Regions from separate parts of the Homo sapiens genome. Here regions 2, 3 and 4 are each linked to region 1. Evidence: promoter capture Hi-C in 16 types of primary human blood cells and fetal thymus (Javierre and others, 2016). All regions are on one chromosome and are shown on one strand. The core of a region is centred on a gene start or on the middle of the fragment in contact, and the rest is flanking DNA. Distances in the headings are between cores, read along the strand shown.

What was found. Contacts are between HindIII fragments. The CHiCAGO score rates a contact against its expected background, and 5 or more counts as called.
Region 2: a contact is called between a fragment that was not itself captured here and the fragment with the promoter of ABHD17B in region 1, in 1 of 17 cell types (activated CD4 T cells). The highest score is 5.9, in activated CD4 T cells.
Region 3: a contact is called between a fragment that was not itself captured here and the fragment with the promoter of ABHD17B in region 1, in 1 of 17 cell types (M2 macrophages). The highest score is 5.3, in M2 macrophages.
Region 4: a contact is called between a fragment that was not itself captured here and the fragment with the promoter of ABHD17B in region 1, in 1 of 17 cell types (total B cells). The highest score is 5.3, in total B cells.

Annotation. Positions count from the first base shown.
Region 1 is chr9:71,909,803-71,912,595 of GRCh38, forward strand. ABHD17B (abhydrolase domain containing 17B, depalmitoylase) reads right to left here and starts at 1,391. Exons shown (of 4, transcript NM_001025780.3): 1 at 832-1,391. It overlaps C9orf85 (chromosome 9 open reading frame 85), which reads left to right and starts at 1,837. Exons shown (of 4, transcript NM_182505.5): 1 at 1,837-2,034. The coding sequence starts at 1,933. RefSeq lists a silencer at 915-1,154 and enhancers at 1,605-1,914, 1,985-2,034, 2,045-2,104. The HindIII fragment of the contact is 4,051 bases long and covers 385-2,793 here.
Region 2 is chr9:73,160,625-73,163,358 of GRCh38, forward strand. ANXA1 (annexin A1) reads left to right here. Exons shown (of 13, transcript NM_000700.3): 6 at 179-269; 7 at 2,158-2,237. Among named protein-coding and RNA genes, the nearest start is that of ANXA1, 10 kb to the left of the region's middle. The HindIII fragment of the contact is 828 bases long and covers 1,071-1,898 here.
Region 3 is chr9:72,952,420-72,955,342 of GRCh38, forward strand. ALDH1A1 (aldehyde dehydrogenase 1 family member A1) reads right to left here and starts at 634. Exons shown (of 13, transcript NM_000689.5): 1 at 516-634. The coding sequence starts at 581. The HindIII fragment of the contact is 2,986 bases long and covers 167-2,923 here.
Region 4 is chr9:70,420,108-70,423,026 of GRCh38, forward strand. All of the region lies in intron 1 of KLF9-DT (KLF9 divergent transcript), which reads left to right. Among named protein-coding and RNA genes, the nearest start is that of KLF9, 6.9 kb to the left of the region's middle. RefSeq lists a silencer at 247-336. The HindIII fragment of the contact is 387 bases long and covers 1,387-1,773 here.

The sequences.
Region 1 (2,793 bases), core at 141-2,640:
AAAGCATCATTTACAAAAAATTCTCTTCTGGCATTGGCAGAGATCTCACCAAAGATCAAAGATCTGAACTTTTTTTTTTTTTAAACAAAAACCCCAGGTTAAATACACTCTTTCCTTCACGAGAGCCCCCACACAGTACAATCTAATTTGACATAACTTTGTTTCGGGGTTAAAAAAAATCCCAAACAAAACCTTTAAATTTTCCAATTCAAAAACGATTCCTGATAAGCCTACCTTAGAGTTCGAAAACAAATAAGATTAAAGCCCAACCATCTAAAGAAAAAGAACCCTACGACAGCCCCACCGGAATACACAAATCGCCAAGCCCCGTGCAGATTCAATCTAAAATCGCGCCCGACAGAGATATAAGGACATTCAGGAGAAAGCTTTTAGGCACCCGCGAATCTCTCAGTGCGCCAGTGAGGGGAATGGGAACCTGACCCCATCTTTTCATCCACTGAGAGAAAAGCAAAGGAAATGAAATGGAACCCTTCTCTTCACCGAGGAGGACCAAAGACCTTCTTAGAGTGTCGGTCGGTCCTCCCTCCCCCACCCCCTGACTCCGGCCGCTCCACGGACCGCAGGGACTGTCCTACCGCTCCCCTTCACGCAACCATCAGAGAATCCTCTCAAAAACACAGACCCGATGAGGAGTGGCTTCCCCGCCTTTCCCCTGTGCCGAGAAGGGATCCCGGTCGCCAACAACAAAGACGCTTCCCGCTCCCCTCCCCCCGCCGGCCCGGGCTCGTCCCTCCCGCGCTGCGGCTCCCGGCCTAGCGCCCCCTCCCCGAGCCGGGCTGCGGCGTCCCCAAACCCCGAGGCCGCACGCACCTGCACCTGAGCGGCCCGGGCCGAAGCGCCGGGCAGAAGGGGTCGAGAGAGAACCGCAGCCGACGCGCTGTCCTCCACAAGGCGAGATCCGCGCTCCGGGCGCCGTCCGACTCTCTCCGCCTGCAGACTGGCCCGACAGAGGAGCGGGGACCAGGGCTACAGCCCCCGGCGCCGGGGCGAAGAAGGACGGCGGCGCCCCAGGGGCCCCGCTCACGCTCCCGAGTCTCGCCTCGCGCCGGCCCTGCTCCTCCACAAGAGCTCGCGTTCTGCTGACTAACGGCCCCGGTGCGGGGCGCTGGAGCGGCCGCCGCTGCCCGTCGGTTGCTCTCGGGCCTCACGTCCCGCGCGGCCGTGGTCGCAGCCGCCGCCGCCACCGCCTCCCTTTCTGGCACTGCAGACGCCACCCAGACCTAGCCAGGTCTTCCTTCTCTTTAATCCTGCTTTCTTTGCTCCTCCTCAGCCTGCCAAGCGCGAGGCTCGTTCCGGTAGCGGGAGGAAGACTGGAGGGGAACGGAGGGGACGAGCACAATCCCCACTGAGCCAGGAGTTGGCCACTGACTGGAGGAAGGTGCCAAAGCTGACCCCGGCTCCAGCCTACTAGCGGGCGGGGGGAGAGACGGAGCCCAGCCTTGCCTCACTTCCACCAATCAGAGGCCGCCCGGCAGGGTGGGAGGCGCTCTGAGCTCAAGGAGAGGCTGAGCTCGCTCAGCAGGAGGCGGGGATTGCGGAAAAGAAGAACCAATAGGAACAAAGGTTCCCCGCCCCTTTGATTTGATGGACTACACATTCGGGCCAATGGGGGAATTCTCATTTCGAAGAAAGTGGGACTTGTTCTCCGGGTTTGAGAAAGAGGCTGCGCGGAGCCGGAGGGGTCGAGGCTGCGCCGCGTGGAGTGGCTTGGCTTAACAGCAGGGAGGGCAGAGCGATGCTCTTTGACCTCCCAGAAGAGTCACGTGGGCTGACCCAGAGCCGGGGCGGAAAGGCTGCGTTTGTTTCTTCCGGGTCATTGACAGAAGCGTCAATTCCTGGGAGTAGTTCGTTGGTTTTCTTTCCCCTCATCCTTTTGCCTGCTCCCGGCGAGGGGTGGCTTTGATTTCGGCGATGAGCTCCCAGAAAGGCAACGTGGCTCGTTCCAGACCTCAGAAGCACCAGAATACGTTTAGCTTCAAAAATGACAAGTTCGATAAAAGTGTGCAGACCAAGGTAGGAACCTGCCTGTTGCACCGTCTTTGACTCCAGGAAGGAATGGCTCACTGGAGAGGGGAGAGAGGAAATGAGAGGAGTCGGCTGGGGCGAGTGTGGACCGCAGCCCAGAGTTAGTCTTGGCTGCAGTGCAACTCTTTCTAAAATGTTATTCTCACGCCCTTTCTTTGACCTGGACATGTTGTCTCCTGGTAAATATTTGATGGTCAGCACACTTAACTAATTGCACAGAGTGAACAGGACCCTAATGAAATCTAAGGTGCAGATGGGGCAGTTACGTCGTTCAGCGTTCCCATCTGGATCACATTAGCAGAGGGAAACGAGGATTGTGGCATGAGTGGCTTTTTCAAATTTTACACCAAGTTTATGCAGCTACGATTTTTTTTTCCAAAAACCCCAAGCCCATAGAGGAAATGTGAATGATTAAGCTGTCTTAGGCTGTCCTCACTAGTATTGTGTGAAATTTCTGTTTTGTAACAATTGTTTTGAAGATAAAAATATTTGGTTAATGTAAAAATACTTGTTTTGCTGTTTATCTTTAGCAGGACTTCTGTAAAGTCCTGCTAAAAAATTCAGACTGTCTAGATAGCCAGAGGACTTGGGTTGTATATAAGTACTAATTTGCAGGCCGGGCGCCGTGGCTCAAAGTGCTGTAATCCCAGCACTTTGGGAGGCCGAAGCGGGTGGATCACCTGAGGTCAGGAGTTCGAGAACGACCTGGTCAACATGGCGAAACTCCATCTGTACTAAAAATACAAA
Region 2 (2,734 bases), core at 235-2,734, 1.3 Mb after region 1:
GATGATAAACTTGTTTTGTTTTAGGGCAATGTAATAGAGCTTATTGTAATTATTAAATGTTGTGGGTGAAATTTACTAAATGACAGAGTCAAACAAATTTTGGAACACCAAAAACTCATTGATCCTCTTGCATGAAGATTTTTTTCTACATTTATCCTTTTCTTCTCTTCAAATTTAGGGCCTTGGAACTGATGAAGATACTCTAATTGAGATTTTGGCATCAAGAACTAACAAAGAAATCAGAGACATTAACAGGGTCTACAGAGAGGGTAAGTTGTAATGTCCAACAGTCCAAACGCCTTATTTGAAAAGGAAATCTAATATACTTTCTTAAAATTGACTGTCTATGGTAATTATGGCAGCTTTGGAATCTCCACATATCAAAATGTTTCTTTATTGTTTGGCACATGTCTATTAAATGCTGTTACCAGGCAACGCTTGAGTTGCTAGGTTGCTGACAAGGGAGATGGTGTCCCAATCCGCATCAAGCTTGCGTTTTAATAGAAAATGTTCCTCTAGGATAAATGGCCACATACGATTATAATGGAAACCTCAATTCAGAGCATTGAATTTTTAAAAATTTCTGAAAAACACTTTTCTATTATTCTGGAATGTATTTTATAAAAATGTCCCAAGGTCATTTTTTTTGAAAAGAATATATAATAACAAAAAAATCTCCTAACAAAATGTTTTTCATTTGTCCTTGAAAAAGTAAAGAATTAGGTGCTTATAATTCTCTGTTGGAAACCTTAACTTTATCGTTATGAACATAAGAGACTCACTTTATCTCTAGTTAAATTCACAGAATAAAAGACTAGTCTTAGCTTATTTTATCTCTCCAGTGAAGCATCTCATTTAAATGATGTGCTCAACACTGAAAAGAGGGTAATTGCAAGTCTCTTACCATTTTCCTACTCTCATTTCCCTGAGCTGCTGGCTTTTTGGCTTTCCCAATGCAATATATGGCATATAGAAGATCTTTCTGCTTGATTCTCATACCAAGCATGGAGAATACAATAGCTTTTGCATATCATTTTCAGAGGAATTTAATAAAAGAATAAAAATAAGGAAGCTTTTAAACCTCATTTTCTGCAATTCTTATTTAATTACCAATGTTTATGTTAGATCCATGTGTCAGTGGTAATAATGATGATTATTTTTGTTTGATAAAACATAGTTTATAAAAATAAGTGTTTATATATTTTTCATATGGCCAAGATATAGGCCAGTGATAGTTTATTACATTGCCCAGTTTCAAGTTGTTTTAGTCCGTTTGTGTTGCTATAAAGAAATATCTGAGACCAAGTAATGTAAAAAGAAAGGAAATACTGTACAAGTAGTATGGGACCAGCGTCTGCTTTTGATGAGGGCCTCATACTACTTCTACTCATGGCAGAAAGCAGACAGAAGCAGATGTGTGCAGAGAGGGAGAGAGAGAAAAGGAGGTGCCAGGCTCTTTTCAACAGCCAGTTCTTAAAGAAACTATGAATGAGAACTCACTCCGAGCCATTCATGAGGGATCTGCCCCCATCATCCAAACATCTCCCAACAGGCCCCACCTTCAACAGTGGAGAATAAATTGCAACATGAGACTTGGCAGGGCCAAACAAACAATATGAAAACCATAGCACTAGTCAATTATAAATTCAATTATTTTTTCCTATTACAGTATTATTTTATGTAGTTAAGCAGAAGTGTTTACACACACATAAATCATCAAACTGCATTACTTATAAGACATTTATAGTTTTTAAACTAAATAAATAATTTGCATTCAAGCAAGTACCTCATTTTGTTCTTTTAAACAATTATTTTATTCATTCTATTGCTTAAATTCTGCCATGTTGTATTTCAGAATTAATTACTAATGTATACCTATACAATTTATTCTTAACGAAAGCTTTATGACTGTGAGTTTTCAATCACAGTATTATCTAAATTGCTCCCATTGCTTCATATGAAATAAATTCAATGATCCAAAAATTTACCTGCTTTAATTTTTCTCTTCTTATTTAAAAATGATAATATTTTGCAACATGTTCCATAAGTCATTGAACACTGTGGCACTGTGAATTTTCAACCAACTTAGAGATGTCAGATATTCTTATTATTATTCATCACTGGTTTACTATAAAATCTATTTTTCTTTTTTCTCAGAACTGAAGAGAGATCTGGCCAAAGACATAACCTCAGACACATCTGGAGATTTTCGGAACGCTTTGCTTTCTCTTGCTAAGGTACAACTCAGATACTTTAGGAAATGCCTCTTGTTTTATAAAGACTAATTTCTTAGTCCATTTTGTGTTGCTATAAGGGAATATCTGAGGCTAGGTAATTTTTAAAGATAAAAAGGTTTATTTGGCTCAGGATTCTGATGGCTAACAAATTCAAGTTTGGGTATCTATGTCTGGTGAGAGCCTCAGGCTGCTTCCACTCCTGACAGAAGAGGAAAGGGAGCTGGTGTGTGCAGAGACCACATGGCAAGAAAGGAAGCAAGAGAGAGAATGGGGAGGTGCCAGCCTCGTTAACAACCAGCTCTCGTGGTTCTCATGAGCAAGAACTCATTCCCAGTGACGGCATTAATCTCTTCATGAGAGATCAGCCCCAGGACCCAAATACCTCCCTCTAGGCCCCACCTTTAACACTGGGGATCAAATTTCAACATGAGGTTTGGAGGGGAAGAACATCTAAAACCATCGCAAGTAAAATCTTGTATCTGAGCTCCTTCTAGAAA
Region 3 (2,923 bases), core at 410-2,909, 1.0 Mb after region 1:
AATAATGCAAGTCCATCTGAAGATTTTCGAATCCAATTATCAGACTTAAGTCCCCCTATTTTAACACTCATTTTATTAAACATATTGGAAAGTTATGTTATTTCAGTATGCTCTCTTTCTCCTTGTTTGCTTTCTATTGTTCCTACTCGTTTGGTTCTTTCCAGTAAGCTTCTCTAGTGAGTATTTTGCTCTCTTATCATACATGCCGGCTATAGTGAAGTTAATAGAAGTGCTTAGTAAAGTCCTCTGAATCCTGGTATAAGAATCCTTTCACACAGAAGAGAATTCCTTTCGCTTGGAAATATTTTAAGAAATAAATTTATGAAAGATTGTCTGATATGATTTAGATCATATTTGATCAGGACACTAAACTGAGACCTGCATTTTGCATGCCTTTTATTTTTATATTTGCAAAGGGCTCTTTACACAAGTTTACTTAAATTGACCTTTAATGCTTTACATAAATGCAGTTTTTGCAAACCCGAGTCAAAGCAGAAAATAGAAGTTTTACTCACCTTAGTATATTGAATCTTCAAATCGGTGAGTAGGACAGGTAAGTCTGGCGTGCCTGAGGATGACATTTCTGATTCGGCTCCTGGAACACAGGTGACTGGCTCAGCAATTTGGTTCTGATAGAGCACTTGGCTTTATTTGTTCCTTTTTTATCTGCACGGGCTAAAGTTTATTTGCATACTCGGATACGATTGGATGAACAAACTCAGAGCAAAAAAAGAAAACGACACTACTTATTTGTAACACCTAGGGCAGGAAGCCTTTGACTTTAAACTTAAATCCTTAAGAAACCAGTGCTCCAGCATCGAATTTGTACCTGGAGACAGTGCACTATTTGCAGATGAATTAATTTACAAAGCCGAAACCTGTGATAAGTGTATGCAGCAGCTGCTCTGGCCACTAAGGCCAGTTATTATTTTTTTGACTTCTCATGCTTTTTAATGCTACTATGTAACTTTCTGTTCTCTGACAGACTTGGAATCAGAGAATTTGAGGATTGAAAAGAGTCTAAAAGGGCACTTGTTCTCAGTAGAAGCTGGCCAGGTGTCTTCAGGACAAGGCTTTCAGGAAATCAGTCCATCTCCCAGAAAATCAAGGTGCTGTTTGGGGAAGAAAGGCCCTTTATCTACACCCTACCCTAAGTTAGTTTTAAAATATCGTATCAGTCTTGTGTATTTTCAGTGCTGGGTAAGTAGACCTACTGTGATCTCAGAAGCCCTAAATTATCTTTATTTTCTATATGTGAACAGAAAAGCCAGCAGGACTTTTAGGGAATTCGGAACACACTGTCACACACAATCACCACAATTAGAAATATGGCAATATCATCTATTAATACTCATTTAAAATGAAAGTAATCCTGGTTTTGGAAGTTGTCTGTATTTATCAACATAGGCAGTGTACAAAGACTAAATTTAAGCAGGGCTTCCAAACAATTCAAGTTCTTAAATTAATATTTAGCTGAAGGACAATTTTTTAAACAGTGTTACTCCCATTTTAAGTACAATACTTTATTGTATTGTAGCTCTAGCAAACGTTACAATAGGAACAAGATAAAATACTCTGGATGCTCTGATTGTGGAGAATCAACCAATTTTTTTTTTTCTAGTGAAACTTGCCAATTCCCCTGAATATGGGACTTACATAGGGAAACTAAAAATTTCTGAATTGTTTGCCCAAATCAGGTGCAGCACTTGTTTCCCTTTCTACCCTCATTTCATATCCCCATTTTAGAGACATACAGAGGGTGAGTAGCTTACTTATGGTCACAGATCTATTAGTGCAGGACCAGAATTTCATTTCAGGCCAGTCTGACTCCCAAACCTGGACTCTTATTTCTGTTTACTATTTCTACCCTATTCTCCACAAGAGAACTCCTACATGGGTTCAAGCATCAACTGCTTTGGTTTTCTCAGTGAATAGTCACCCTTACAGGCATTTAAACATAACTTTTTATTCATCTAAGACAAGAATTTGCAAAACTTTTTCTGTAAATATTTTCAGCCTCTGGGCTGGATGGTTTCTGATATAATTTACTTGACTCTATTTAAAAGAAACTGTAGATGATAGGTAAATTAATGGGTGTAGTTGTTTTCCTATAGAACTTTATTTAAAAAGACAGAAGGCAGGCCAGATTTGGTGCACGGGCCAACTCCCTAGATTCTAAGGCAATATCATTCCCAATGCCTTTGACTCCCCCGTGTCTTATGTTTGATGACCAGATAGAAACTTCTGTGTTCTTTCAACATTTCTCTGTTTCTTTCTTTTTGGAAAGTCTAATTGTTTTCTCTCTCAAAAATGTGTTTTGAGTTAAATGCACAATTACACAACAGCTGTTACATAACTTGAGAGTGGCGCTCTGGCCATGCCCAAACAGCTGTGTTTTGCTGCTTTCTTCTCCCAGAGTCACAGTTGTTTGTGGATTCAAATACTGGTTTATTTGATGTCCAGGCGATGAAAGCTCAAGGCTTCATAACATACTTGGCTTGTCATCTCACTTCTTATATGATCATTCTCAATTGTATTTTATTGGATAATTATGTAAGAACAGTCCCTTTATACCAGGCATTCCTGAATGTAGGCAAAAGGAGTTGCTTTGGAGACAGGTTACCACACCTGCCCATTTAATTTCAGCAAATATTTACTAAGTATCATTTATGCATCCATAATTCTTTAGCCCTAACCTCACTTAAGCAGATCTTTTCTGCCTAGAAACCACAGGGCCTGAGACCTATATTTTTGAGGTAAACATCATCCTGCCCTGAGAGCTTATTTTGTAGAATAGCATATTTCTGGGAATTGCTGCATATGAGGAAAAGATTTCATCAGACTACTTCTATTCCTTACAGAGGAAATAATGGCTTTTGTGAGAACCTAGGGACCAAGGTTGCACATTTTAGAACTGGACCCA
Region 4 (2,919 bases), core at 330-2,829, 1.5 Mb before region 1:
TTTCCTGTGGTTGTTGTGGAACAGTTTGTCCTTTTTACTCTCCGCCCCCCCCGCCCCGTCTCCACCCCCTTGGTAAATATAGCGCTCACGTTTCATCATCTCTTTGTCCAACGAGTGCCAGACACCCCGGCCCGCGGCCCCCGCCGCCTCCCTCCTCCTCTCCGCTCGGTTACCTCGCATAACCTCGCGCGGGCAGGCACCGGGCAGCAGCTCTCCCCGCGGCCGCGCCCGCCCGGCACCCAGCGCTTCCCGCCGCAGCACACCCCCAACCCATTCTCCCCTCCCCTTCTTCCAGTTCCCCCTTCTGTACGGCCCCCATGCTCTTGTCCCACCCCCTCTACTCGGCGTCCGGGTACTGGGTCGAGACGTGTGTAGGTGTAGGGAGGTGGATAGCCCTTTTCCGAGCCGTAGGCGTCACCCCTACGCCCAGGCCCAGGCCCAGTGCTGGATCCTGCACTTTCCCAACCTCCCCCTCCCAAGTTCCAAGGTTGCCCTCTGTTCCCCTCCCAAGCGCAGGTGACAAGCTGCTGAGACAGTGTCTGATTCACCGACAGCTGAACCAGCTACTGGTACTTGGAGGTGGGCGTTTGCTGAACTGTTTTCCTCCCACCTCCCCCAACCCCCTACCCCGGTGGGGAGCGGGCTGGAGGGTCGGAAGAGGCAAGGTGGATGACAGCCGAGAAGTGCGTGCCCGCTCTTCCCTCTCTCCCTCCTCCTCCCAGTTTCATTTCCACACATACAGCCACCCACCGGGGACCGGAGGCGGCTAGTGTTCTCTGAACGCCGGGAACTGGCTCTCTCTGTGGTCTCCTGTTTACTTCCCTCCTCCTCTTTTCCCCTCCCTTCTCCCCGCCCCCATCTCCCGGCGCCGCTTCCCGCCCAGAGCAGCTGGGAAACCTGCAGCTGAACACTGCAGTCATGGGACTTCCCTGGCCCCGAGCTGTGCCCCAGGTTTGCCCTGTCCTGTCCTGCCTTGCCCTGTGTCCGCTTTTTGGGGGGCACTTATTTGTCCTGAAAAGGGTCTTAAGGCTCCCTATCCAGGAACGTGGAAGAGGTGACTGCTTCCCTCCCCCTTCCTCTCCTCCTGACTCCCCTGCCAGCTACCTTCCTGTGGGGGCCCTGCCTGGCTGTCTTTTTTGGCCAGGATTCTGGGCCACCCCCACGAGTGGCCACCTGTCCAGGGAGAAGTGGTGAGACAGCTAACGGTGTGTAAGAACTCTGCATCCAGGATGCTGCAGAGCTGGCTTCTTTGCCATCACAGACTGTCCTGTTCGTAACAGGGTGCCCAAAATTCTCTGCCGACCAAGGTTTTCAGGCAGAACCCCAAAACCTGCTCCTAGGGACACACCCTCTCCTTATGGAGTCTGGCAAAACCTTTCCTTTCAAAGCTTGCTTCACAGCGGGGAAGAATGCAGGCTCTCTCCCTAAGTAAGCTGAATGAACAAAGGACTCCAAGGAGGCCGTGGGGGTTCCAGCTCTGGGTGCCGCCTGCCTGAAGTTCACCCCATTTAAAAACCACCTCTTCACCACCACCCTCTGCTCCACTGCCATGGTTACCAGCTCCCTGTCCTTCCCAGCACAATGTTGCACAGAGGCAGAAACAAACAAGGACATTTAAAATGTTCTTTTAAATACCCAAAACACTGCCTTGGTATTTTGGTAGCAGAGAAGAGGGAATAAAAGTCCTGACTGTTTGCTGGTTTCCTTCTGACCCCACGACCCTGAAAAAATCCTTACCCTGGATGGCCTCTCAGCTGCCAAAAGAGGGAAGGAAGCTTGGTGAGATACTAGAGAGTGGAATTCAGAACAAACCCTTGGCAGGAGAATTATTCACCAAGATAGACTCTTCTTTCTTCCCCCTCCACCCCAGCTGCTTTGAAGTACCTGCCATCAGACTATACCACCTCCGCTTTGTGGCTGTCATCTGCAGGCTCTCCTGCACTCCCCCTCATTCCCCGAAGATTCTAGCACCTGACTCACAGTCCCCCACCTCCACCCAACTCCTATTAACATTTTTGGTGAATTTAGCATCCCAATAGATTAATGACCTATCTGAAACCCTGGTACCTGAACAGCAATCATTTTTTTCCTCCACCCCACTGTCACATGGGTATCTTCAATCTTTTCATCACCAAATAACAGCACCACCTCCGACCATCATCCTCCTTCCTGACCAACACTTCTTTCTCTCCCAGCTTATTTGCTCAAATAACCACATTTGAACAATTCTTTGACCCTATTTTGACTTCCAGTCTACTTTTTCACTGTCTGTCATTGACCTTTCATTCTTACATCTCTCCTACCCACCTTAAGATTTCATGGTCTTCCACTATATCATTCTTTCGCATGCACCTCCCCCTACTCTCTCATTCCTGGGACCATCTGGCCAAACTCTTGATTCTGTCCAGCTTAACACACTGGACAAAAATGACAGGGCTAACTGTTGTCACTCTAAATTTATGATCATACATCTCAAGTGGGCTCTCAACACTGTCCGTGTGCATTTCCCTCGTCAGTTTACTTTCCCACACGCTGAAATGACTATATTGCACCTTCTCTCTTCAAACTTCCAACACCCCTCCCTTCCTCACTCTGAGCTGAGAAACTTGCTGCTTATTTTACTGAGAAAATAAAAGCAATTTGACAAGAACTACCTCCTCTTCCCACCATCATATCTTCCATCCTGCCTACCTTTCCACCCAGACGCTGCCTTCTCTCTTGTCACCTGATATACTGTTCCTGCTCCTGTCTAAGGCAAATCCTTCCATGTGGCACCAGGTTCCCTTCCCCTCTAGGCTATTTAATGACTGTTTCTAAAATTACCCCATCTCCTGCTTATCAAGTTGTTGCTCTGTTCTAAATCATTCACTTCAGCACAAAAAAGTGTCCTCCCTCCTGTCTTTATATGTATACTTCTGC